Regions from separate parts of the Homo sapiens genome. Here regions 1, 3, 4, 5, 6 and 7 are each linked to region 2. Evidence: promoter capture Hi-C in 16 types of primary human blood cells and fetal thymus (Javierre and others, 2016). All regions are on one chromosome and are shown on one strand. Each heading gives the region's core, a stretch centred on a gene start or on the middle of the fragment in contact. The rest is flanking DNA. Distances are from core to core; before and after follow the strand shown.

Evidence for each region. Contacts are between HindIII fragments. The CHiCAGO score rates a contact against its expected background, and 5 or more counts as called.
Region 1: a contact is called between a fragment that was not itself captured here and the fragment with the promoter of KLHL2 in region 2, in 6 of 17 cell types (M0 macrophages, monocytes, total B cells and 3 more). The highest score is 15.5, in M0 macrophages.
Region 3: a contact is called between a fragment that was not itself captured here and the fragment with the promoter of KLHL2 in region 2, in 1 of 17 cell types (monocytes). The highest score is 7.8, in monocytes.
Region 4: a fragment that was not itself captured here is called in contact with the fragment with the promoter of KLHL2 in region 2 in 1 of 17 cell types (M1 macrophages); the score reaches 5.1 in M1 macrophages.
Region 5: a fragment that was not itself captured here is called in contact with the fragment with the promoter of KLHL2 in region 2 in 2 of 17 cell types (non-activated CD4 T cells and activated CD4 T cells); the score reaches 13.0 in non-activated CD4 T cells.
Region 6: a fragment that was not itself captured here is called in contact with the fragment with the promoter of KLHL2 in region 2 in 1 of 17 cell types (total B cells); the score reaches 5.7 in total B cells.
Region 7: a contact is called between a fragment that was not itself captured here and the fragment with the promoter of KLHL2 in region 2, in 5 of 17 cell types (M0 macrophages, naive B cells, total B cells and 2 more). The highest score is 11.4, in M0 macrophages.

The regions. Positions count from the first base shown.
Region 1 is chr4:163,611,621-163,615,597 of GRCh38, forward strand. It overlaps MARCHF1 (membrane associated ring-CH-type finger 1), which reads right to left. Exons shown (of 10, transcript NM_001394959.1): 6 at 1,694-1,773; 7 at 651-1,418. Among named protein-coding and RNA genes, the nearest start is that of TMA16, 120 kb to the left of the region's middle. RefSeq lists an enhancer at 168-217. The HindIII fragment of the contact is 3,754 bases long and covers 1-3,337 here.
Region 2 is chr4:165,205,544-165,209,046 of GRCh38, forward strand. KLHL2 (kelch like family member 2) reads left to right here and starts at 2,018. Exons shown (of 15, transcript NM_007246.4): 1 at 2,018-2,359. The coding sequence starts at 2,334. RefSeq lists an enhancer at 1,639-2,139 and a silencer at 1,670-2,319. The HindIII fragment of the contact is 2,287 bases long and covers 1,050-3,336 here.
Region 3 is chr4:163,533,855-163,537,765 of GRCh38, forward strand. All of the region lies in intron 9 of MARCHF1 (membrane associated ring-CH-type finger 1), which reads right to left. Among named protein-coding and RNA genes, the nearest start is that of TMA16, 41 kb to the left of the region's middle. The HindIII fragment of the contact is 2,117 bases long and covers 226-2,342 here.
Region 4 is chr4:163,658,586-163,662,202 of GRCh38, forward strand. All of the region lies in intron 5 of MARCHF1 (membrane associated ring-CH-type finger 1), which reads right to left. Among named protein-coding and RNA genes, the nearest start is that of TMA16, 170 kb to the left of the region's middle. The HindIII fragment of the contact is 5,960 bases long and covers 1-3,617 here.
Region 5 is chr4:163,554,119-163,557,741 of GRCh38, forward strand. The region is part of intron 8 of MARCHF1 (membrane associated ring-CH-type finger 1); the gene reads right to left. Among named protein-coding and RNA genes, the nearest start is that of TMA16, 61 kb to the left of the region's middle. The HindIII fragment of the contact is 782 bases long and covers 1,095-1,876 here.
Region 6 is chr4:163,473,769-163,477,758 of GRCh38, forward strand. No RefSeq gene overlaps it. Among named protein-coding and RNA genes, the nearest start is that of TKTL2, 2.0 kb to the left of the region's middle. The HindIII fragment of the contact is 1,333 bases long and covers 716-2,048 here.
Region 7 is chr4:163,592,515-163,596,305 of GRCh38, forward strand. The region is part of intron 7 of MARCHF1 (membrane associated ring-CH-type finger 1); the gene reads right to left. Among named protein-coding and RNA genes, the nearest start is that of TMA16, 100 kb to the left of the region's middle. The HindIII fragment of the contact is 4,571 bases long and covers 1-3,696 here.

The DNA.
Region 1 (3,977 bases), core at 211-2,710, 1.6 Mb before region 2:
GCTGTTGAGTTAAAAAGAGCAAGAACGCTGCCACATAGCTAGAAAATATCCACATGTTGAAACCTTTCGGTATATGTTTATCAGTAAAGTTAATGTGGCCCCCTTCCCTACAGGCTCTTGCAACCCCACTGATACGTCCCTGACCTGTTTCTGTGTCCTTTGAGTCTTCAATTACCCTGCTGAGTCAAACAATTGGAGAACAAATTAAAGCCAACTGCAGAGAATGTTATTTTCTGATACAAAAATCTGACCTTAAAGAACTCAAGCCTTGAATATCTTTCTGTCAGGATGCCAGCAAATTTGCATTGAAAAGTCTAACATTTCACACAGTCTCACTCTTAATTCCCCCACTATTACTGTCATAACTAGAATGAGTGCAAGACTCAGCTGAGTCAGCCCCTTTACCAGGATAAATCATTATTCAGTTTAAAGGAAGGGGATATCTAATTGTACTTGGTAACAGCTTTCACACCCATGTTTACATCTGCATTATTCTTTTCATACCCACCTTTTCTCCTTTTATATCCAATCAGAAAAAGAACAATGTAAATAAATGTTAAGTTTTGAGGGTAGGTGTCAAACACGCACCTAACTCACTGCAAAAAGAACTATATATGGATGACATCAAGCCTTTCTCTACAGTGACTGACCTGCATACTTCTAAATTATCAGACCCATCGTCATAGGTGGCAGGAGGCTTCTGAACAGGGTTATTCACCTGGAGCCCTGCATCATTCATGTCCTTGCTGCCTTCTGGAACTCCCAGTATTTCAGTGCTGGAATCTGTTTCTGAAAATGTCTTCTTCATTATTTCATTTTTCCTAAGACTTTGCAAGAGCTGAGGATCTCTGTGGTGATATCTGCCTTTGCTCTTCTCATGATTCCTTGAGGATCTCTTAATTTCAGAGGACCCTTGAGTCAGAGAAGGGTTGCATTCTTGGTACCTTGTATGTTTTCCTCTGTGGAGATTTAAAGAGCAACTCTCACATTCAATCAGCTCTTGTTGCTCTTTACCTTTGGATCCCAGATCAACGAGCTCAATTCCGTTAGGAGTGGAAGACCCAGCTAAGTTTTCACACGGCTTATTATTATTTCTCCTCCTTCTTCTTGACAGTCTGAATTTAACCTGGGCTCTTCTTTTTGCCTGAATCCAATGACTCTCATCTGTGGAAGATGAATCTGAAGAATCTGTGTAAAGCTCCCTCCACCTGGGGCTTGAGATTTGAAGGTGAAAGTCATTTTTTCTCCCTCTTATTTGTTCTTCTGCAGCATGCTCATATCTCTCAGAGGCTTTTCTCCTCCTCCTAGGTCTTTGTATTACTGATTTCTTACCAGACTCCTTCCTAGCAGGGCTCAGCACCATGACAGGGGTGCAATACTCAAATGACTCTTCTGACATGTCATGCAAGATGGCAGATCTAGACAGAGCAGCAGGCAAAGGATGGGAAATGGGAATGGAGAGGAAAGCCATGGAAAAACAGAGAGAGAGAATGATGAAAATGACAGCATGGACCAGAAGTAGATAAATAAAGATCAACTGAAGAAAATGAACTAAATGAAAAAAAATAGCCAGTATAAATTTTCTATGGACCATGTAAAGCAGAAGCAAGAGACACACATTCTCAGAACAAACAACAAGAATACGAATATTGATCCAAAGAATATAGATTAAGATAATTTGTTCAGCACTTACCTGCAGATGTCCTGAGTGGATGGACAGACAGACAACCTTGACTGGCTCCTGGGAGCTGTCCCTGTTGTTGGGCTGCTTGCCTGGAGAAACAAGTTAGATAATTTGGCATCTTGGTTAAGGTAATACATGGTTGATATCTTGCTTTTTTTCCACATATTTAAAAAATTACAACAAACGTGGCTGCTGGTCATGTTGCTTATAATGCAGAACAGAGAATATAGGAAGTTTGAGGTTGGTTTTGCAAAAGTAAAACTTATTTGAGGAACCTGGAACAGCTGAGATGCTGCGCTATTTTGCTGTTACTTCATTTACGAGAGAGGAAGATGATTCCACAAGTTTCTATTCTATTTACTGTAATCATTTGAGTGGAATAGCTCAATTTGCTTTGGAAACAAATGAATAATACTTGAAGATCCTATGATACATGGACTAAAGCACTATTATGTGACAAGGATAATAATAGTCTGAGAAGTCTAATCAAACAGCCATTAGGTTGCTAGATACTTCCTGAAGCTAACATCAAGGCCCCATGAGATATTTGAAAATACTTTGTAATATTTAAAAGCCTGAATTTATTGCTATTAAAATTTCATTAATGAAACTAATAAAATATATCCCTTGCAACACTATTGGCCTTTCATATCTTTTAACCCTATAACCATACTAAGTCTGAAAATAAGAAAGCCTGAAACATCAGATTATTAGCATAAAGTTGAGTGCATTTCACTAAAGTCCTACCTTTGAAACAGTATTTTCTTCACTCTATTTGACTTTAACCTGTTGTATTTAATATAGGTTATGATGATAAATAAAAAACTAGAATGTAGGGATAATTTTCTATGTTCCAGGCATTGTGCTGTAGCTTTATTTACTGTCTCTTTAATTCTACAATAATCTCACAAGTGGAAAGTAATAATAACTAACAGTTTTGAGTGAATAATATGTGCTTATCAGTGTTCTAAGCCATTTCCATATATTCATTAATGCTCACAATAAATCTTTGTAGTAAATACTATAATTACATACATGTTACAGCTGAGGAAACTGAAAAATTGGGGCTGCTTCTCACTGATAGGTGGTAACGCTGAGATCTGGACCAGGTATCTGGCTCCACTATGGGTGGAGATCTGGGTCCAGATTCAGGCCTGTTTGACTGCAGAGATGAAATGCACAATTTCGTCACCAAGAAAATAACAGTAAAGGTAAAAAGATTACCCCAAATTTCGAAGTCATTCTAAAAATTCTCATATTGGAACTATGTAATCATGATTCTGAAATCCAGAGAAAAAGGAACAAATTCTAACTCAAGAGATCAGGTCATATTTGAAGAGAAGGTATAGTAGGCTAAATAATGGTCCCCCCAAATATCTCAACATCCTAATCTTTGGATAGTGAATATTTTACCTTTTATGGTAAAAGGGACTTTGCAGATGTGATTAAGTTAACCATCTTGAGTTGAGGAGATTTATGCAAATTATACTGGTAAACCCAATGTAACCATTAGGATCCTTATGAGAGGGAGGCAGTAGAGTTAGTCAGAGAGAGAAGATGAAGAATATGAATAGAGGTAAGAAAGGAGGAAGATACTACACTGATGGCTTTCAAGGTGAAAAAAGGGAAACCCTGAGGAAGGTGGCATGGGGAAGCTTAAAAAGGCTAGAAAATGAGTTCTAGAGTTTCCAGAAGGAATTCAGCCCTATTAACATGTTGATTTTAGCCCAGTGGGATCTCTATTTGGCTTCTGACCTCTAGAACTATAAGACGACAAAGCCCCAGGGAAATGCAGATGCAGAGACTACTGGATCCCAGGACGTGATGTATTCTGGTGGTGGCTCTGCTCTCAAAATGGTGCCATGTTGCAGCAGGTTAGGTCCCAGGAGGTGGGGTGATCCCTATGATAGTAGTTATAGGAAATTAATAAGGAGGTAACGATCCAGCTAATCTTAAAAGGCAAATAGGAATTATTTTAAAAGCTTAAAAATATTTAAGGTAGAGGAAACCATTTGTTAAGAGACCTAAAGACACCACCAAAAAACTCCTGGAACTGATAAACAGATGCAGTAAATTTGCAGGATACACATCAACATACAAAAATCAATAGTGTTTCCAAACCCCAGTGAAACAAAGTAGATGAGAAAGAAATCAAAAGAGAAATCCCATTTATAATGATGACCAAAAAAACCCCACTTAGGAATAAATTTAACTAAGAAGGTGAAAGCTCTCTACAATGGAAAGTACAAAACAGTAATGAAAGAAATTGAAGAGGAATAAAAAAAAATGAAAA
Region 2 (3,503 bases), core at 768-3,267:
TTGCCTCGCTATGCATGTTGCCCATACAGCAATCAGTCATCTTTTTTTTTAAAAAAAACTTTGTATTATGAACTTTTATTTATTTATGAATTTTGAGACGGAGTCTCGCTCTGTTGCCTGGGCTGGAGTGCAGTGGCCCGATCTCGGCTCACTGCAACCTCCGCCTCCTGGGTTCGAGTGATTCTCCTGCCTCAGCCTCCTCAGTAGCTGGGATTACAGGCACCCACCACCACACCCGGCTATTTTTAGAAGAGACGGGATTTCGCCATGTTGGACAGGCTGGTCTTGAACTCCTGACCTCAGATGATCCGCCCGCCTCGGCCTCCCAAAAAGTGCTGGGATTACAGGCGTGAGCCACCGCGCCCGGCCCATTATTATCTTTTAAAACATACACATAAACACACATAAATGATGACCACCCCTATGCACCCAACACTTAGCCTCAAAAATTAACATTTTGCAAATATTCATCTATTCACTTCTCTGTCCTTTTTTTTTTTTTTTTTGAGACGGAGTTTGTTTCGCTCTTGTTGACCGGGCTGGAGTGCAATGGCACGATCTCGGCTCATCGCAACCTCTGCCTCCCTAGTTCAAGCGATTCTCCTGCCTCAGCCTCCCGAGTAGCTGGAATTACAGGCATGCACCACCATGCCCGGCTAATTTTTTGTATTTTTAGTAGAGACGGGGTTTCTCCATGTTGGTCAGGCGGATCTCGAACTCCCGACCTCAGGTGATCGGCCCGCCTCGGCCTCCCAAAGTGCTGGGATTACAGGCGTGAGCCACGGCGCCCGACCTCTGTCCTTCTTTTTGTGGGATATTTTCAAACAAATCCCAGAAAAGTCATCCTTTTAATGATCAGATCAAGCTACTCACCACTTTCTAATTGCTTCTAATCTCAGTAAAAGCCAAGTCCTTTATCACGGCCTGCAAGGCCTGGGTGATCTGTGATTACTCCTCGCCACACCCATTCCTGCCGCCGTCCTCCTGACCTCACTCTGCTTCATTAGAGGGTCTCCCACCCTCGCGGCCCCAGCAAGCATCATCTGGAAAGCTTGTTAAAGCACACGCTGCTGGGCCCCACCCCCAGAGTTTCTGGTTCAGTAGGGCTAAAGTGGGACTGGAAAATTCGCATCTCTAACAAGTTCGCAGGTGCTACTGCTTCCAGCGGGCATACTTGGAGAACCACCAGCTGCACTGTTCTCCTTCCCGTTCCTCAACAAGGCAGGCAGGATCTTGCTTAGCAGTCTCCACGCTGCTCTTCCCTCTGCCCTAGGCATTCTTTGCATTACTCAAAGCCCCTGTTATTCCATCTCTTTAACTCATGCCTTTTGAGAGGCCTTCTCTGACCACTCTTTCTAAAATCTCTTTCCCTCTCCTCATCCTCATTTATGTTTCTTCATGGTAAGCATCACTTACTGTTTCCGTCACCCCGTCTAGATGGACAGCTCCACAAGCAGAAAGACTTGGTTTTGCTGTCACAGCCGCAGCACTAAAACCTTGCTTAGCAGGTGCTCACTTCACTTGTCCAAGGAATGGCTAGCATACTGAGGAGGGAGAGCCTGCTTCCTGCCTGGGACACTGGACAGGCAAATCACTTCTTCTTGCCTCAGTGCCACCCTTTGTAAGGACACTGGTTGGTTATGCCTACCCTTCCCATCTCCCTGGGTACAGGCACAAATGAAAAGAATAACGTGTACACGCCCGCGAAGCAGAGCAGCAAGTGGATACCGAGCATTATTACGCCGTGCGTTCGGCCGCCCTTTTTCTGCACGGAGAACCCCCTCCGCTCCCATTTTCCAGCGCCCCCGTCCCGGCGATCCAGAGACCCGCTGTGGGCGGCCGCCGCCCGCGTCCCGGCCTGCGGGCCAGCGTCTGGGCACGCCCGCCCCGCACCCGGCTGGCGCCCGCCCGCCCGCCTCCAGAAGCAGAAGCGGCAGCGGCAGCGGCAGCAGCAGCAGCAGGAGGAAGGGGAGGCGCCGAGGGAGGGGTACTCGGCCGCCGCGGGAGGCCGCATCGCAGTCCCGTCACAGCGTCGGCGCCGGCCGGGGCCGAACCCGGAAGTGGCCGAGCCCGCGCGCCCGCCGGTCCCGTCGCCGCCGCCCCGCACTCGGGCGAGCGCGGGAGCCGCGCAGTAGACGGAGCGCGCCCGGCCGAGCGGGCCATGGCCGCGGGGGCCGCCGCCGCAGGTGGTGGCGCGCGGTGAGGAGAGCGCGGCGCCCCCTCCGGGGCGGATGGAACGCGGCTCGGCGGGCGGGCAGTGCCGGCGTCCGCGGCTGGAATGGTGCTGGCTGTGTTGGTCGGTGCCTGCGTTCTGAAGCCCGAGAGGAGCCACAATGGAGACGCCGCCGCTGCCTCCCGCGTGAGTGAGCGGGCGGGCGGGCTGCGCCGCTGCGGATAAGCGCGCCGCTGCGGCGCGTGTCGCCGGCCGCGGGCGCAGCTCTGGGGACAGCCGCCGGGGCCGGCGGGAGGTGGGAGATGCGGGGCGTGACGAGGCGCTGTGCCCGCAGTCCTGAGCGGACGCGGACGGAAACTCAGCCTGGCCAGGCGGTGACTTAAAACGCTGCCCAGGATTTCTGGGGAAGGGTCTTCCCCATCTCGGGCGGATAGAAGATTCGGGGTGGGGCTGTGCATGGGTGACCCTGCAGGTCCTGTGTGTACCTCCCTGAAATGCATGGGCACCTGGTGCCGAGTTTGCCTACCCCTTTATAAGAGATCAGGCTAGGATGCACTGAGTCCGTTGAAAAAAGGAAACTGGAAAGTACCAGTCACCCGCTGTCTAAATGAATTGATCTTAGGTTGCTTGATTCCCCGAATTTCTAACAAAATTAATATCTGAGGAGCTTTTGCATCACTCTAAATGAGCGGCGGCCGTTCAGGGCATGTGACCTCTTTTACCTGGCACTGCAGAACGTTTTATCCAGAAATCAGCATCTTCTGTTTCGTTCGTACCTCGGGCAAATTAGTAGCGTATCGACCTGCCAGGCACAGGTGTCTTTTTTCTTTGGTACCCAAGTACATTCAAGATCACTGGCAACAGAATTACTTTCTAGAAATAATAGCTGAAACATTATGTAGAAGACATTATTGCATTATTCAGAACAAGGGTTTTTTTTTTAAATTTTAGTTTTTAGTTTTAAAAACATCTTGGTAAAAGTGAACTGTAAATACCCAGGAGTTTCGAAAATTTCAATTTTGGTTCCCTCTTCTCTTAGGAAGGAACAAGAGTCCTTTGAATCTGACTTTTCAAATCGCAGACAAACCTCATCCTGAAGAATGGTTTACCTTTTCATGAGAGCTTATTCATGGAGGCTTGTCGTTCTCCGGTCAAATTTGGCAAGCTTCACTCCATGCCGATTGTACCGCACCAGTCTCTTGTGGTTATTTGGCAGAATTCCAGCCAAAATAAGGATACTTGGCTTGGGTTGAATAATTTTTTGATGTTCAGCCCTTTTAGGAGAGCTAATGGGATTCTGGAACGACAGTTTCTAAAAGTGCGTTTCAGA
Region 3 (3,911 bases), core at 34-2,533, 1.7 Mb before region 2:
CACAAAAACACTCCATTTCTTTTTAGCCATGCCCAATGGAGTTTATTGTGCCTAAAATTTGCTGCAGTCTTGCACAATAAATGCTCATGATCTATACCTCTATTTATTTTATCGTCATCCTCAGCTGCCTGATTTCTCTCATCCAGTGCCTTTCTTAGTAAACTTTATCCAAAGTCCTATCTGGGTAGCTGTTTTCCAAACATTGCACATCCTAATATAGGTTTAAGCTTTAGCACATGCTATTCCTCTGTTTAGAGTGCCGCGCTCTTTACAATAAACTTCTACTAATCTTTCAGAACCCACTCCAGGGAGAAAAAGGTGCAATCTGTCATGAGGTTGGCAAACACAGCATTCGTGCCCTAATTACTACCAACACTCTTTCCTGCTAATCCCTATGATAGCTTCATGGTTCCTAACACCACAATCTAGGTCAACTTCTGGAGTTGGCATGAGAAAAAATCTTTTTGCCATCTGGCCCAGAGGAAGAAGATGCCTTTTCACAATATTGCAAATTCCCTACATCGTAGTCCAGGAGAAACCCTATTAATGTTAACTAATTAAATGCTGTTGTTTGGAGTAAAATAGAGTAACTCTGAACTTCTTAATAAAACTAGGAGAAAGACTGACGGTTTCATGTCTCTCCCTACCCAAGTCGCTATTTAAAAAAATTAATTAGTGTATCATGGAGTTAAACTCTTTGAAGGAACAGATTCAATTATCAATATATTTACTTAAGAGAAGATGCTAAAAGATGTTAGAAAACAAATCGTCAAGAAAACAGACCTTTGATTTTAGAAACTTTAGAGTACGAAAATGGACTATACCAGGCATTTATCATTAATCAGTGTCTGTTAGTCGTATACAAATGTTTCCATGGTCCCTTTCTCCTATAGACTTCTTTGATCTTAAGGATAGGAATTTTAAAAATAGAAGTATGCTACTTGGATTTGATTTATTTATACAAATGCATTTGCAACGAACACGTGTTCGATAATAGCACTGTTGTTATCTAGTGGTAATAGTGGTACTGTATCATGTATTCCAATACTCTCCAGAAACATTTTCATTTTAGGATAAAAAATACAGAAATAATTACATACAATTATGAGATGAATTGCTTTATACTTATTTATAAATTTCCCAAGTAACTTATAGACAAATATAATACTTTAAAGTAGTAATAATAATTTTTGACCATTAGTGCAACTTTTAAAAAATGTTGTTCTACTTTGACAGCACTAGTTCCTCATCTAAAGATTTCACAGTATCGTTCATAACGAAACATACGTTCCACACTTTTAACATATTCTAGGTATTCCTGCATATATTATTCATTTTTGGAAAAAAAATTGAGGGGGGTATATAAAAGAATCATTTTTCTTATAAAAAAGTTTTTAAAGAAAATATCAGGCTGATACAATACAAATTGTTTTATTCTTGATTTTTCTGGTGTTCCAGCAAAATAACTGAACTAAAAATTCAGAGTTCAAAGGCCTTTAAAGACCATCTATTTCAATTCTCCCTTCTTCTCCCCCTTTTGCTATTTCATGCCAAAGGTGAGCTTATTACCCAATGATCTTGACCTAGTAATCTTTGATAGTGTTGAAATTTGATTTGTGTATTGCATGGAAATAGCAGTTAACTTGCTATTTTTATTTAAAAAATACTCCAAGGCAAAGTCTTCATAAGTGATTTAAAGAGTTCTGAAGAATAATCAGGAGTATGTGATGATTCTAATAGTCCCAGATAAGTGGCAGCACACATTTATACATGGCTGGACGCCTGTGTCCATTTTTCCTGTATGCTAAGTAACACAGTGGCATCAAACGGTAGTTAGTAATAAAAAGAGCTAAATTATTCTCTATGCAGAGAGTCCATGCATTTGGAATATAGAAGGGCTTTTTTTTTTTTTTCTTAAGTTCCTACTTGGCTGTCTTCATCTATGCAAGGAGAACAATCATCTGAAACACTGACTCAGTGTAGACCATAGGTTCACCACTGGGGGCAGTTTTGTTCTCTGGGGGACATTTAGCAGTGTCTAGAGACATTGTTGATTGTTGTACCTGGAGTGGGGTGCTTCTGACTTTTATTAGAGGCCAGGCATGCTGCTGGACATCCTACAATGCACAGGACAGTACCTTCCAACAAAGAATTATTCAGTTCATAATGTCCATAGTGCTGAGGTTGAGAATCCCTGCTGTGGAAGACAATAACTTACGTCTCTTTATTGGGAAATTTGCAGAAAGGATTTGGAATATGAGCAAGACATCTTGCAGTTCTCCAAATTCAAAAGGATTTTTGCTGTAAACTTATATTAAGCAGTAGTTTCAATGTGTTTAGAAAGCTTTAACCACAGACAGACTGGAGATGAAATGTGCTTTATTTCCCATTTTTAGGGAAATTCTCATGGACTACATCCAGCTTTCTCCTCTGCTTAACCAAACTAGCAGCTGTTCCTTATACATGCCTGGAAGTTTTCCATTTCTGAGCCTTTGTCTCCGATCTTTTTTCTTTCTGTGTTTTGCTTCCCTGCTTCTATGTGTCTACTTGTCCCACAAAACCCATCTTAGAGGTCATTTCCAGCTGGAAATAAGTTTTCCCACTGTTACACTTCCATGTTATTTCTCCGTGTGCAGTATGAGCTCACTTTCTAACATAAGCATTTTTACTGTGTCATGCTATAATCTTGACGAGCACAGAATTTGTCTGGGCTGGACTTTGTTTTCCATAGTTCCTTGCTCAGTAGGTATTTCAAGGATAAATGAAAGCTTTTACAACCCCTCTTCACTGTCAGTAAAGCTATGCTTTAGATGGTAGACAATCTAAAGAAAAGTCCACTCAAGTTTCACCTCTCTTTCCAGAAACAGTGACCAAAGCCTATAATATACCTGGGAATCTGAGCCAGGGGGAAACAGTTGCCATTTTCTCTGCCCTTTTTGGGAGACTCAGCCTGATCCCTCCACTTTCCTTCACAAGGTATCTCTGAATCAGTTTCCCCTGCCCACACCATCCTTCAATATGTTCCTGGGAAGTCAAATCTCCCACAAAACCCCTCCATTAAGTTTAGAGTGCAGAGCACCCCAATCCCCACATACAAAAGCCATCTGAGTACAAACTTACTGTCCAAATGACCATCTTTAACAGACAGCCTGCTCTTTTGCTTGCCTTCATACAAACTTACTGTCCAAATGACCATCTTTAACAGACAGCCAGCTCTTTTTCTTGCCTTCAAATAAGTGGACACGATTTTTTTCTACAAAATAAATTACTGTTGAGTGGTTATAAGGATTGTATGTGGAAAACTCACTTTAAGGACATCTTGAGAGGAGATGCTAAAATGGGGCTAAATGGATTTTTCAAGAATGTTTTCATCAGGAAGATGTACTTGCCTCCTTTTATTGAGACACAGCCAATTGTCTTCTTACATTCTGTTAGACTAGTCAGTTTCTATGCTATTGTTAGCAAAGACAAAAGAATGTACACCACAAAAAAGGACAATGATAGAGAAAGGAAGGCACTAAATCTTTTCCCTGGGGATCCTATGTACAATTCAAGGTATCTTTGTCCTCAGTCATATATAAAGCTGTATCCTGCACTTCAAAATGCCGGGAGCACAAAGTTGTTTCTATTTGCCGATTTCGCAGAGGAATTTGGAAAATCTAACTTAGGCAATTCAAGCATCTGCTCATTTATCTGAGGCCCAAGAACCCATCTCTACTTCTGTCTTTGTGTCTGGAATACTTTTGCAGGAGTTTCTGTAGGTTTAATAATAAACTCTCTGCCCATCTTTACCTCTCAAGCATTAAGGGGAAACATTTCTTGGAAATTCTTGGACAGCAATTAAAAGAGCAGGCATTCTCTCTACCACCATTTTCTGAGGAAATAGAAAGCTACTGTAGTCTCTCATATTA
Region 4 (3,617 bases), core at 323-2,822, 1.5 Mb before region 2:
AAGACCATGGAATAATATACAGCCATAAAAAGGAAAGAGATCATGTCCTTTGCAGAGACATGGATGGAGCTGGAAGTCATTACCCTCAGCAAACTCATGTAGGAAGAGAAAACCAAACACTGCATGTTCTCACTTCTAAGTGGGTGCTGAATAATGAGAACTGATGGACACAGGGAGGGGAACAACACACACTGGGGCCTGATGGTCGGGGGAATGTGGGAGGAGGGAGAACTTTAGGAAAAATAACTAATGTGTGCTGGGCTTAATACCTAGGTGATGGGTTGATAGGTGCAGCAAACCACTATGGCACATGTTTACCTATGTAACAAACATGCACATCCTGCACATGTACCCTGGAACTTAAAATAAAAAGGATCAAGAAAAGAAAAAAAAATGATTTAGCTGGATATATCATTTTATATTAACAATTTATAAAATCTTTTCATAATAGTATGCTGTTGTTCTCTGGATTTTATTGTTTTCATTGAAAAATATGGTATTAGTTTATTTAGAGTCAGCCATCTTTCTTGTTCTGCTCTTCCTCATTGTCTTTTGTGTATTGCATTCACTACATTTCTCTAGTCTAGATTTTTACTCAGAAGGTATAAATGTTCCTAAATCTAAGGATTCATGATTTTCATGAATTTCATTAAACACTGTTATCTTAAAAGTATACATCTGATCTTTGACAAACCTCACAAAAACAAGCAATGGGGAAAGGATTCCCTATTTAATAAATGGTGCTGGGGAAACTGGCTAGCCATATGCAGAAAACAGAAACTGGACCCCTTCCTTACACCTTATACAAAAATTAATTCAAGATGGATTAAAGACTTAAATGTAAAATCTGAAACCGTTAAAACCCTAGAAGAAAACCGAGGCAGTACCATTCAGGACATAGGCATGGGCAAAGACTTCATGACCAAAACACCAAAAGCAATTGCAACAAAAGCCAAAATTGACAAATGGGATCTAATTAAACTAAAGAGCTTCTGCACAGCAAAGGAAACTATCATGAGACTGAACAGGCAACCTACAGAATGGGAGAGAATTTTTGCAATCTACCCATCTGACAAAGGTCTAATATCCAGAGTCTACAAGGAATTTAAACAAATTTACAAGAAAAAAAAAACCCCATCAAAAAGTGGGCAAAGGATATGAACAGACACTTCTCAAAAGAAGACATTTATGCAGCCAACAAACATACGGAAAAAAGCTGACCATCACTGGTCATTTGAGAAATGCAAATCAAAAGCACAATGAGATACCATCTCGCACCAGTCAGAATGGCGACTATTAAAAAGTTGGGAAACAACAACAGCTGCTGGAGAGGATGTGGAGAAATAGGAATGCTTTTACACTGTTAGTGGGACTGTAAATTAGTTCAACCATTGTGGAAGACAGTGAGGCGTTTCCTCAAGGATTTAGAACCAGAAATACCATTTGACACAGCAATCTCATTACTGGGTATATACCCAAAGAATTATAAATCATTCTACTATAAAGACACATGTACATGTACGTTTACTGCAACACTATTTACAATAGTAAAGACTTGGAACCAACCCAAATGCCCATTAATGATAGACTGGATAAAGAAAATGTGGCACATATATATGAAGGAATACTATGCAGCCATAAAAAATAATGAGTTCAAGTCCTTTGCAGGGACATGGATGAAGGTGGAAGCCATTATTCTCAGCAAACTGACACAGGAACAGAAAACCAAACACTGCATGTTCTCATTCATAAGTGGGAGTTGAACAATGAGAACACATGGACACAAGGAGAGGAATGTCACACACCGGGGCCTGTCGGTGGGTGGGGGTCAAGGGGAGGGAGAGCATTAGGACAAAGACCTAATGCATGAGGAGCTTAAAACATAGATGACGGGTGGATAGATGCAGCAGTCCACCATGGCATATGTATACCTATGTAACAAACCTGCACATTCTGCACATGTATCCCAGAACTTAAAGTAAAACTTAAAAAAAAAAAACTGTAATTGTTTGACTTTCAAAAAGTTGCGTTAAAGCACATGTAATGAGAAACTGGTTTATGATCACTTGGAAGATTTGTATAGTTTTATAAAACTCAATTAAAATGTCTGTTTCAATGACCTGTATTCTGCCAGACTTAATCACAGACGGATATTAAACTTGTCAGAATTTCTTCAATTCTCATTCAAGCCTGTGAATAAACACTCTGTATGACACTTATTTTGAGCCTATTAAAGAATCCAAATTCAAAAAAATTCCCATTTTTCTCTGACTCATGTTTCCCCATTCTTTCTCATCTATTATGTAATTCAAAGTAGACCTAGGTTATAATTTTCACTCTGATTCTTCCTCTGTAGACACATCACCTTCAGCTCATTGAGGTATTATATTTCTTTAGGTATTTACACTTTGTATTCCTAAAAATTTGATAATCTTGGTTGTATTATCACTATTTATTTAATTGGATGCTGTTTATTGACTTGTTACTGTGGAAATTTAGTTGTCTTTCTGATTCTTCCTGAACTCCTCCCTTGCCCATCCATCTCTTTCTTCTGTTCTCCAAATAAGATTGTATAATAATTTGGCTACACGAATATTAAGTCACCTGCTATGCTAACTTTTTGCTACTAGCTGTCTTTTTGCTTTTTGCTTAATTTTCTATGATCTTCCCTGAAATTCATCCCTCATCTTGCTAGAAGTTATATTTTCTCTCCACACTCGAATACATCAGAAAATCTATTAATTTTATTTTGTTTTTCATAGTACTTTCCTCTGGAGCCTTCTGTTCTTCTGTGATCTGAAATTTTGGCTTTTTAGGCATGATTTCAAGCTGTTGCTTTGCCCTGACAACTTTCTTTGCCATCATTCTGGGGATTCCCTTTGTGTCTCTCCTATTTTGGAAGCCCTTTTTCCTGAATCCAGTATCTTCATTTTTCTAGATGCTTTTCTTTTTTTCAAAAAAATACAGATGTCAGTATCAGAGAACGGGATGCAAAATTTTGATACTTTAAAAAGTTTTTAATAGCTTTATTGATGTATAATTGACATGCAATAAACAACATATTTAAAGCATACAATTTAATAGGTTTTGAGAAATGTGTAGATGTTTGAAACCATCCACATAGTCAAGTGAGTGAGCGTGTCAATCACCCACAAGTATTTTCTTGCCCATGCAGTGTATCTTCTTTCCTCTCCCTTTTCCCCTTGCAACTGCTGATTTCTTCCTGTTACTTAATACTACAGATTAGTTTGGATTTTCTAGAGTTTTATACAAATCTAATTACATAGCGTAGGACAGACTTTAATTTTTGAAAATATTTTTATGCTATCATGCCATTCAATTGATGGTTGACTGGATATAGAATTCTGGATTGGAAATAACTTTATTTCAAAAATGTGAAGTAATTGCTCCTTTTTAAAAAACAATTCCAGGGTTATGAGAAGTTTGGAGCCATCCTGATTCTTGATTCTTGGAATAAAATCTTTTTTTTCTTCCTTTTTTGGTATGTGTAAGATGTAGCATTTGTTTCCACCATTCATTTTGCTAGGTACACAGTTGGTCCATGATATCTGGAAATTATGTCTTTAAGTTTTTGGATATTTTCTTTAATTATTTCC
Region 5 (3,623 bases), core at 236-2,735, 1.7 Mb before region 2:
GTGATAGCAGGGAAAATGCAACTTATAAATCCAAGCATGGTTGAAATATCATTTTTAAGGCTTTAGAAAAAGGTGCATTTATTTAAAGTAATAGTAAGAGATATATATTGTACTGATATGCTTGTCACGTTAGTTTACAATGTGAGGAATACGCCACTAAGAATTGTGACTCAGTGGTGCTGCTGGATGCATGAGAGAGGTGTTAACAACTGCCAGATGAGAAATTGTCCAAATGCAAAGGTATTAGTAGAGTCAGAGGCCAAGGGAACATAGAAGGTGTTGGAAAGAACAATGGAGAGCAGAGAGAGCTGGGGTAGGAGCAGGAGGCCTGGGGTGGTGTGGAGGGAGAGGAGTACAATGTGGTAGTTAGGTCGAACAGGCTAGAAGCCACATGGTCAGAGAGGCTTGGAGCGAAGCAACTAAGAACTCAGACTCCTGGGTTAGGGAGACTTGGGTCAGAGACCCCTGTCTGGCTTGGGTCAAGTAACCTAACCTCCTAATGCCTCAGTTTTCTCATTGGTAAAATCAGGATGACAACAGTGTCTCTTGTATAGAGTTTGCTGGAATTATATGAGATAATCTAGTTAGCACATAGTAAACAGGGAAGTAAACCAGGCATAAATATTCTAAAAATAGTGTGACCAGTAAATTCAAAGCTACCAAATTATTTTTATAAAACAGATAAGCCATTTTATGTTCAGTCAACTAAATGATGATTAAGAATTTCTCTACAAAATATATGCACATTACTTATTACATGCATATGTAAATATATATGAGCCCAATGTTAGATTACCAAAATAATTTTTCTTATAAACCTTGTCTTGATCTCTCACTGGTTTCTTTCAAGATTTTCATGACAGATGGGATTTCCTAAAAGTTTTAAGCAAGATATTTGTAATATAGAAAAAAAGGTGCTGAGTAAAATCATCCACTAGAGGGAGTAATGATATCACGCATAATGATGATATGAATGGAAAAAAGAGAAATGGAAAAATGTTTGTATATCTGTCCTGAGGGTAGATATAATATGTGGGATTTAGGCACATTTGCAGTGGAACTGTTGGGATAAAAGTTAAAATTGCAAATTCCTAAGCTTTGTTCCAGATTTATATCTGGGGGTGTGGCCTAGGAATCTGCATTCCTGGCAGGCACTCCGAGAGATTTTTATATATGCTGAACTTTGACAATTACTTCCCTAAGGAAGGAAAAGTTCAGGGACATATTTTAGAGTGGCATTGTAATATCTGACGGTTTTTCACAGAGTGAATATACTTTCACCTCCTTCCATATCCCCCCAAAAAACTCACCTAAATCTGAGTTGATTAATATCACCATGTAAGAACACAAATTACTTGAAAGTTTAATTAATAGATGCATTTAAACAAAGTTCCTTTAAAAATATTGAATCAATACTTGGTTGTCTGTTTTCTCTCGGAGGTTATGGTGAAAGATATTTTATCACACATTCTGAAAGAGAAGTCAGTATATTACTGCTTCAGGCATGTTGAACCAGCAGAAAATCTACTGAGCTGTGTCCATGAGGATACTTAATTATGGATTGTGGCTTCATAAAGAAAACAAAAGGAATAATTGGGTTACATTTCACAGTGGCATAGTCTCTCTTCCCCAGAGGTTGAAACCCTTGCCGAGCGGACTCTTGGATGACACTGCCATTGATGATGTTTTCCCTGGAAGCCCATTTCTGTTGTGGGCTCTTCGCCTCTTACCTCTTCAGTGAACAGCTATGGCACACGTGGAATCTGCACAGGTCTGTGGTCACTCTCTGTGCCTAAGTGATCATAGCCTTGCCGTTTAGGAGACAGTGCTCGTGTACTAAGCAGAAGCACAGACACTGGGAAGATTAAAAGAGAAAAGCTTTTAAAAATACCCAATTTTACCCCATCATTTTCTAGTTGAAGAAACTGAGGCCCAGAGCACTGAGTTGACTTACCCAGTCATTATTAGATGACATTATTAGATTTTTTTTCGTTCAGGAGCTAATTATTAAAGCATCACAATGTATCGGACATTGTTGTAGGATGCTAGGGAAGAAGACAGCCAAGATTTCTGCTTTGATGAAGCTTATATTAGGGTCCCAATTGTGGAATTTTGTGTAGTTGTTAAAATAGGGAACTGTGTAATTTTCCATCAATAAGAGATAATAGGTTTTGATTTCATAAGTGCTTCTATCCCTTTCTCAATTCTGTTGTGTATGTTTAGAAATGTCTTTCTAGAATATTCCTTTGGGTGGCAGCAAATAAAAAGAGAATCTTTTTGGAACCGTCTATTTGTATCTACCCACAGTAAGCTCATCTACTGACAATCCATTGTTGATGCTTATTCTCATGGGTCAAAAAAATTCTTACATCCTATTTGCACTCTTTAATAGCAGTGTCACATCTGAACATTGTATTTAATGTAATTGAGTTGATTTTTTTTTTTACTCTCGAGAGTCTCTTAGCCACATATACACTTGAAATAAATCATATATATACGATTTATATATAAATAAAACAGAATATATATTTGTACATATATTCTACTCCAGTTTAAATGAGAGCCTGTGAAACTTGAAGTATTGGTTCCAGTTTTGGATATAATAATACTTTAAAAAATAGTGTTTTAGTTACTATATCTAAAAATCCATTTTATCAGTACTTTGATATCAAGCATGATTAATTGGCTCAATATATTACATTTGAATTTGTTTTTGGCACCATACTGACTCAGCGTTTCTTAAGAATTTTGTCCTAAAACTGAAGATTTTTTTTTTTTTTTAAAGAGAAGATTCTTTTGGGGTATAGAAATTTCTTAAATTGTATACAAAATATTGTGTGCATTTATTTTTTTCTGGGGAAAGGTCCATGATTTTCAATGGATTCTCAAAGAAATCGGAGACATTTTCCAAGTTAAAGTCCTTGCTTTAAACTGCTCTCCCTTGAATTGATTTAATAGCGATAGCAGGGAAGGGTTGGAGGTATACATAATCTCCACAGGCGGGAAATGAAACTTGTGGTTCAGGGACTCGGTATGTTTGGAAATCAAAAAATGACTTTGCAACCACAACTGGCCAAATTTCCTCATTTACAGCATTTAGGATGAAATCCCAAATGTTGATTCTCATCCTACTGGGTGATGGGAGAAAGTGTAAAATGCTCATTTGTGTTTACATGGCAATATTCAACTTTGTTTAATTATTTTGCTGTATAAGCTGTCCTATCCTATCATCTCCAAATACTGTTTTCCTCTAATTAGACAGCAGTTGGTTTGAACCAAAGAAAGCTTCAGGGGGACTAAGAATCTCATTCAGTTCCAAGGATACCAGAATAATTTGTCTGGGTCTTTGGGAGCCCATGCCAAGGGGTGTGTTTTTTTGTAATGATTCCTGAGGCCTTTATGCTTTCTATGTGAAATTTTTTGAGACATAGGTGATAATTTTTCACATTCTAGAACAGTTCCCATTTTTCTTCCTAAAGCTCAAGAGTGAGAACTGAACATGAAAGGAACTCATTTAAAAGTTCTTTAATAGCCTGTCGTTTTTCTTTCCTCTCTCTTTGGAAACCTAATAAAAATGGGTTAGCCTTGCTTTTCTTTTGCCTATATCCTTCATTCCCACTTAT
Region 6 (3,990 bases), core at 132-2,631, 1.7 Mb before region 2:
CGCAGCACCCCCACAACCCACCGCGGCAGTGCTCTCACGTGACCGCCCCGCCCTCGCCTCCCCTCTGCCTGAAGGCCTGAGCTCAGCCACCAGCCGGGGCGCCCACAACGGAGCTTCCCGCGAGACTGAGGAAACGGAAACGTTGGAGTAGCCTGCACCCTCTGATGTGCACCGTTCCCTCTCCCTGTCCACGCCCAGCTGAATGGATTTTTAGTATTTACTTTGTCACGTGCATGTTCAACATTAGGAAGCATAATTAAATTTTTTACCTTTCCCTGTGTTATAAATTCAAGACTAGACATTTTTCTGTGTATTATAGGAAGCGATTTGTCAGGCTGTGCTTTTTTAATGCATTAACACTATATCCGAGTCATCACTCTTTCATATCAGAACATTAATAGAAAGGATACAAAGTCACTTTCAATCTGACCAGTATGGCAATGCTATCTCAACAGAGACTTTCTCAGAGCAACCAAATATCTGAATCTCAGACTTATAGAAAGAAATGCAATGACTAATTTGACCAAAATTTATAGGAAGAACAAATCTGAAACCACCCAATTGCAGAATAGAATTGCAACTCCAGTGTGCCGTAAAGTACTATTTCTGTGTTGAAATAATTAGAAGGCCAGTAGGCTGAGGTAGCTTCAGCTCCATGAGTTCCTACCTAAGGAAAGGAAACCCAAATCAGTGTAAATGATAAAAAGGAAATTTAAGCTTAATCAATCAGAAACTGCCAGCTAACTTCTAACTGGGGACTTTCCACTGGGATGACCCAAATAAGTCTAGTACTCCACTTTAACCAATCAAATATCTTTCCTTTGCTTCCAAATTCACCCTATAAAAGCCTTCTCCTTGGCTCCTTTATCAGGAGCTACCAGATTCATGAATCACTGAATGGTCAAATAAATGCTTTAATATTTTAATGTGCCTCAGTTTATCTTTTAATGACTATTACTACAAATCATTTTTAAGACAAAGTTACTTACTTTAAAAAACTAAATTTGTGGGCCGGGTGCTGTGGCTCACACCTGTAATCCCAGCACTTTGGGAGGCCGAGGCAGGCGGATCACAAGGTCAGGAGTTCGAGACCATCCTGGCTAACACGGTGAAACCCCGTGTCTACTAAAAATACAAAAAAATTAGCTGGGCGTGGTGATGGGCACCTGTAGTCCCAGCTACTCGGGAGGCTGAGGCAGGAGAATGGCGTGAACCTGGGAGGTGGAGCTTGCAGTGAGCCCAGATTGTGCCACTGCACTCCAGCCTGGGAGACAGAGCGAGACTCCGTCTAAAACAAAAAAAACTAAATTTGTGCCATTGAACTCTTCTAGCAGGCCAAGGTTATGGTTTGTCATCAATAAAACAACAATTAAAAAAAACACAATGATAATATATCATACCTTCCCATATTGCGATGTTAAACCTCTTGGTTTCTTGAGCAATAATTCTTACCTTAACTTCACGTTAAAATTAGGGCACATAAGAAACACAATGCCTGGTTCCATCCCAGAAAAATAGAATTTGAATTTCTGGACCTGGAGTCTGGGAAGCTATGTTTCTAAAATACATCCATTGATTATAATGGGTAGTCAAGGTTAATAACATAATCTGGAGATAGTCTGAGACCAGTGGTTCTCAACATTAGTTGTAGTTTAGAATTATCTGGGAAGTTTTAAAAACATCTCATGTCCATGCTGCACTCCAGACCAATTATATCAGAATTTCTAGGCAATAGATCTAGGCGTCAGTAATTTTAAAATCTTCCCCAGGCAATTTCAATGTTCAGTCAGGGTTGTAAACAACTAACTCAGGGGGTGTTGTTACTCTTTATACTTATTATCTCTTGCATTATATCTCAGAAAAATATTTCAAATGTTATTTGCTATTTCAACTAGTTCTATCATTTTAACTTTTAAGGACACATATTAGAATAAATAGTAATAATATGACACTACTGATTTTAAGACTTGTTGCAGGAATGTTGGCATTGGAGAAGTTCTTAAGAGGTCATCATGTATCCATAACTCTCCATGTCCTTTGCAAATTAAAGCTTGTTTATCTTTTTAGACAAATAAAGGAGGAGGAAATACAAGCAGACTAGGCTAGAACTGGTAGTACAGAAGATGGGAATTAGAGAAAAAATAATAATCACAGTAAAATAATAGCAAACTACTACAGGCTGACAGGAAAGTAGTTAATATAAACACAGGTAGCTCACCATTATTTTGGCCAAAAAGAACTCTAATAAATCCACACAATTAGTAAACATGATAGTACAAAAATGATTTATGAGGCAATGTTCCCATGAATAAAAACATGGGACTTCTTAACATTTCTTTCCAAGTTCCCACATTCTTTCACTCATTTAAAACATTGCACAGCTATTTCCTAAAGTATTAAATAAAAAAATTTTAACATTAGCAAAGGTCAATTTTATTAAGAGAAGAATGTAGTCTTGGAGATTTAATACCCTAGATAGTGAGTGTGAATTTCCCTCTATCATTCTGTGAGACCGTGTGAATTTTTTATACTATATAGAAAATAATATTTTATAAATTATGTGTAAAATACTTATAAACCATTCTGAGATTTTGTAAAAGGAACTCTGGAAAGATATATATATATATATATATATAAATATATAAAAGTATATATATAGTAAAATATCTGGAAAGATATACTATATATAAAAGTATATATATTATATATAAAAACTCATATCAATATATGTAATATATATTAAGTTTATATAAAATTAATTTTATATTAATATGTTATATAAATAACATATATAAGCTGTTAATTATTTTCTTTAAGCATTTTAGTCTTTTAAATTTGAAATATATTTTAAAATATACAATTGAAAATATATAAATACAGGTAGAGCATCCCAAATTTGAAAATCTGATGTTTCCAATGCTCCAAAATCTGAAACATTTTGAGCACTGACATGTTACTCAGGGGAACTGCTCAAAGGACATTTTGGATTTGGGATTTTTCTGATTTGGAATGTTCCGTTGTTAAGTATAATGCAGATATTCCAAATTTTTTTTTAATTGAAATCCAAAACACTTCTGGTCTCAAGCAAATAATTTCAACTAAAGAATACTCAACTTGTTTAAAGTATGCACAATTTCATAATGCAAAATTACCCAATATGGCTGGGAACACAACTTCGTCAAATAAATCAAACAAAGACGTGATACCACCTTCTCCCCTATTTAGAAGACAAAATAGGGGAGCCAAACCCTATTTGGCTGACAAAATGTCAGCCAAAAACTTTTAAACCAGCACGCCAAAAATGTAGTTGTCTTGGAGAAAAGTTCATTATTCATTTTAGAGATCATTTTGGAAGCCAGTCAAAAATGTTCTGCAAATAGGAAAACATTATTCATTTATTATTAATCTTGGTTTATCCAGACAAAGCAGAGATTGGCAAATTCAAGTGCCTACTGGGATAAGGAGTTACCACGAGTGCTTGGATGTCAGCTATAAGAGGGTTAGAGGGGCCTGTGTTAAACTGGAGAATACAAGACCACTTAAAGGCATTCAAAATTGAAAAACTTATAAACATTTTGTTGGAAAAATAAAATATACCTTCAGGCTGCCACTTTTGACCCCAATTTAAAGTCTATTTAAAAGCAGCAATAATTTTTGTTTTAACTTTGCTTAAATTTTTCACTTAATTTTTTCTCATAGTATCTAAAAGTATTCATTATAGCGTGTACTTCACATGAAAACAAAATCTAACAGGATTACCAATACAAGTAGCTATGAGGGAAAAACTTAAATAGTAGCAATTGATAAGTGTAATTTCTACTGAGCTGCAGCAGAGAAAACAGAACACACAATTACCGATTACTGAGTAGGTCTACACTGATTTGTGAAAATAGATATTTTGCCATGTGAGGGTGAGTGATATTTAGGAGTTGGGAACGCTGAAATTTTACTTAAATCTTATTTAAACTGTTAAGTTTTGTTAAAATGGAA
Region 7 (3,791 bases), core at 161-2,660, 1.6 Mb before region 2:
ATTTTTTTTTTTTTCACCACCAGACATCACACTGATGGAAAACAGTGGAGAAGAAGATAATGATCACCTTGCTTGGTCAATAATGAAAGCAGAGGAGGCCAAGTCTTATTTGAATTCACAGACATTGAATTCTGCAATGGATTGGGAAGATTCTATTGGAATTGCTTCTCTTGGGTGTCTCATCCCCTCTGGAGATGGTTCGATGCCATTGATACTAGGACTTTAAATTCTGCTTGGGACTGAGGATTCCCACTGAGATTCTATTATCATCTAGCCTAGTGGTTCAGTCTCATAGTGGGCCGGAGCCTCTTTGAAGACTATCTGAGAGGTCTCCATGGGCTCTTGAAACACATTAAGATTCCCCCATTCCCTCTATTGATGTGTGTAGCCCCTAGGAGTCCCAGTCAGTATATCTAGCAATCTTAAGATCAGCTCAGACTGTCCAAATCCTCCAAATCAGGAGAAATCAAAAGCTGGATTGCATCTTTTAGGATAATCCCTTCCCTGTTAACCATCGCTTTACTGCCCTCTCTATACTCATTGGTTAGCTCAGAGGACCATGTATTTCTGCATAAAGGAAATGAGTTCCCCAGTGCCATTTATCTTTCCAGATCCTACCTTACAATTTTGATGACTTGTGGATAAGTAAATAGATAATATATATTGAACGAATATCCGAAGGTTATGATTTTCTCTACATTTGCATATGTCATAAATATTCATTTTATATCAGCTTTGAGGTCTTTTTGGGTGCATTTGTAAGACTGACAAAATTAAACTAGAGATATTTCTAAGCAAATGTGCTTACAGTTATTAGGCTAAATTTTTGTTAGCTGCATACATTGAAGTAAAAAGGCAAAACAAAGGGACAGATAATAAAAACTCATTTGGCTTTAATATGTAGCTATAATCAAAGAAATATATATGGTCAGATACAGGAGAAGGCTTTTGTATATACATAATAACAGCTATCAGAAAAATTATGCAGTTATAACCTTTTAGCCTTTTTCATTTCTGCATGTGGCAGAAATTCTTAATTCAAACTGATTTTCTGATCTTTTTTTTGTGATGGCTAGGTGTTTGAATTTTTCTAAGCTCATCCTCAACCATGACTTCCTTCCAATTTTGTCCACTCATTAATCTTATCTGGCTGAGCATTACATCAAAGAAAGTCTCAAGTTGCCATGGATAATTGACAAAGCAGGCACTTTATTTACAGATAACCAAAAATGCATTGAATTAGAAATACGCCTTTGCATATGAATTCTTCTACAAAGGCAAGTAAGTACAAAATACTGATGTTTTACAGCAGTTCCAACCACATTGAGTGAAGAATGATCAACTTTTATTCATTTATTCACTCATTCATTCATTCATTCAGTCAACAAGTAATTTGTTGCTTATGTATATATGCAAGGTTTTATAAGGTCCTATGGTAAATATAAAGATGAATTAGTCTCAGTCTTTTTCCTTTAAGAAGTTTATATTGACAGTTTATGCATCAGACAACTGCAAAATTAGACAGGATACATTTAAAATGGGATGTGTGCCATGTCAAGTGCTGTTGTATGCAAAGGAGTGAAAGATCATCTCAGATTGGGGACCGGGGGAGGGTAGAAAGTTTAATGGAAGATGTGGCATGGGAATTGGAATTGAAGCTGGGGTAGAATTATGGCAGATGGAGAAGGATGTTGGTAGAATATACTAGGCATAGAAGATGTTTTCAGTCAATGCTTAGAAGTAGGATTGACTGGGTAATTTGGTAACATTATGTGGCCAAGTATGAAAAGAGCATGAAAGTTCTTACTCCAACTAAATACAATATTTAGTATATATTTAGTATATTTATTTAGTATATACAATAATACCACATTATTATTATATGATATAATAATACAATTAATTACTTTAGTAGGGAGATATCATGCTGAAAAATAAAGATTACACAGAGCCTGGTATTTCCCTCAACCAGTGCCAATACACACACACACACAAACACACACACAAACTAACTTTAATTGTATTTAGTTGAGTAGGAACCCACTACATAATTTAAATAAAAAATTAAGATTACATTAAAAAATGAGCAAAGGAGCTAAAAAGACATTTCTCCAAAGAAGACATACAAATGGTCAACAGCTATATAGAAAGGTGTTCAAAATCACTAATCATCAGGGAAATGCAAATCAGAGTCACAGTGAAATGTCACCTCGCACCCATCAGAATGGCTATTATCAAAACACAAACACACACACACACACACACACACACACCCAAACCCAAACAAGATAAATGCTCCTGAGGATGTGAAGAAGTTGGAGCCCTTGTACGCTGTTAGGAATAAAAACGGTGCAGCTGCTATGGAAAACAGTGTGGAGGTTTTTCAAAGAATTAAAAATAGAAATACCATATGAGCGAGCAATCCCACGTCTAAGTATCCAGAAGAATTGAAATCAGGACCTCAGATAGGTATCTGAACTCCCATGTTCATTGCAGCATTATTGACAAGAGTGAAGCTACGGAAACAACCTAAATGTCCATCAACTTATCAATAGAGAAAGAAAATATGGTATAAGCCAGCGAGTGGCTCATGCCTGTAAACTCAGCACTTTGGGAGGCCAAGGCGGGAGGACTGCTTGAGCTCAGTTTGAGAGTGAAGCTACGGAAACAACCTAAATGTCCATCAACTTATCAATAGAGAAAGAAAATATGGTATAAGCCAGTGAGTGGCTCATGCCTGTAAACTCAGCACTTTGGGAGGCCAAGGCAGAAGGACTGCTTGAGCTCAGTTTGAGACCCGCCTGGGTAACACAGTGAGACCCTGTCTTCACTAAAAATAAAATAAAAAAAAAATTAGCGGAGTGTGGTGTCATGTGCCTGTAGTCCCAGCTACTTGGGAGGCTGAGGCAGGAAGATTGCCTAAGCCCGAGAGATTGCAGTTGCAGTGAGCTATGATCATGCCACTGCACTCCATCCTGGGCAACACAGTAAGACCCTGTCTCCAAAAAATGTGGTATATATACACAATGAAATATTATTCAGCCTTAAATAAAGAAGGAAATACTGCCATTTGCTACAGGATTGGCTGTTCATTGATGAAATTTGAGGAAATTATGCCAAATGAAATAAACCAATCACAGAAGGATAAATATCACATAATATCACTTATATGAAATGTACAAAATAGTCAAACACAAAGAAACAGGGAGTAGAATAGTGGCTGCCAAGGCTGGGGAGAGGGGAAAATGGGAAGTTGTTATTCAGTGGGAGTAATTTTTGATTATGCAAGATGATGATTCAGTTCTAGAGATCTGCTGTACAACACTGTGCCTATAGTTAACAGTAAATACTGTACTCCACACTTCAATTTATTAAAAAGGTAAATCTCCTGTTAAGGGTTTTTTAACCACAATAAAGATAAATAAACTATTTGCCCATAAAAAAAGTAAGATTATTAGAAGGATTAATTTGGCATATTAGATAAGAAAGAAAAGGGAGAACAGGGAGAGCCTATCACAATAGTCAAAGTCAATAACAATGAGAACAAAAGCTAGTGTCATAGTGTGAGAATGAAATGGAAAAAGAGAACAGATATTTTATAAACTTAGAGTTGGTAGAATTTAGGCATCAGTTTGGGAAAAGGAAAGGGAATGAGTTATGGAGGAAGAGAGCAAAGGATGGACCAAGCTGACTTTAAGCTTTCAATTAAGCTCCTGGAGGATAGACGCTCAAGAGTCATCTATTGGCTGGGCGCCGATGGCTCACACCTGTAATCTCAGCACTTTGGGAAG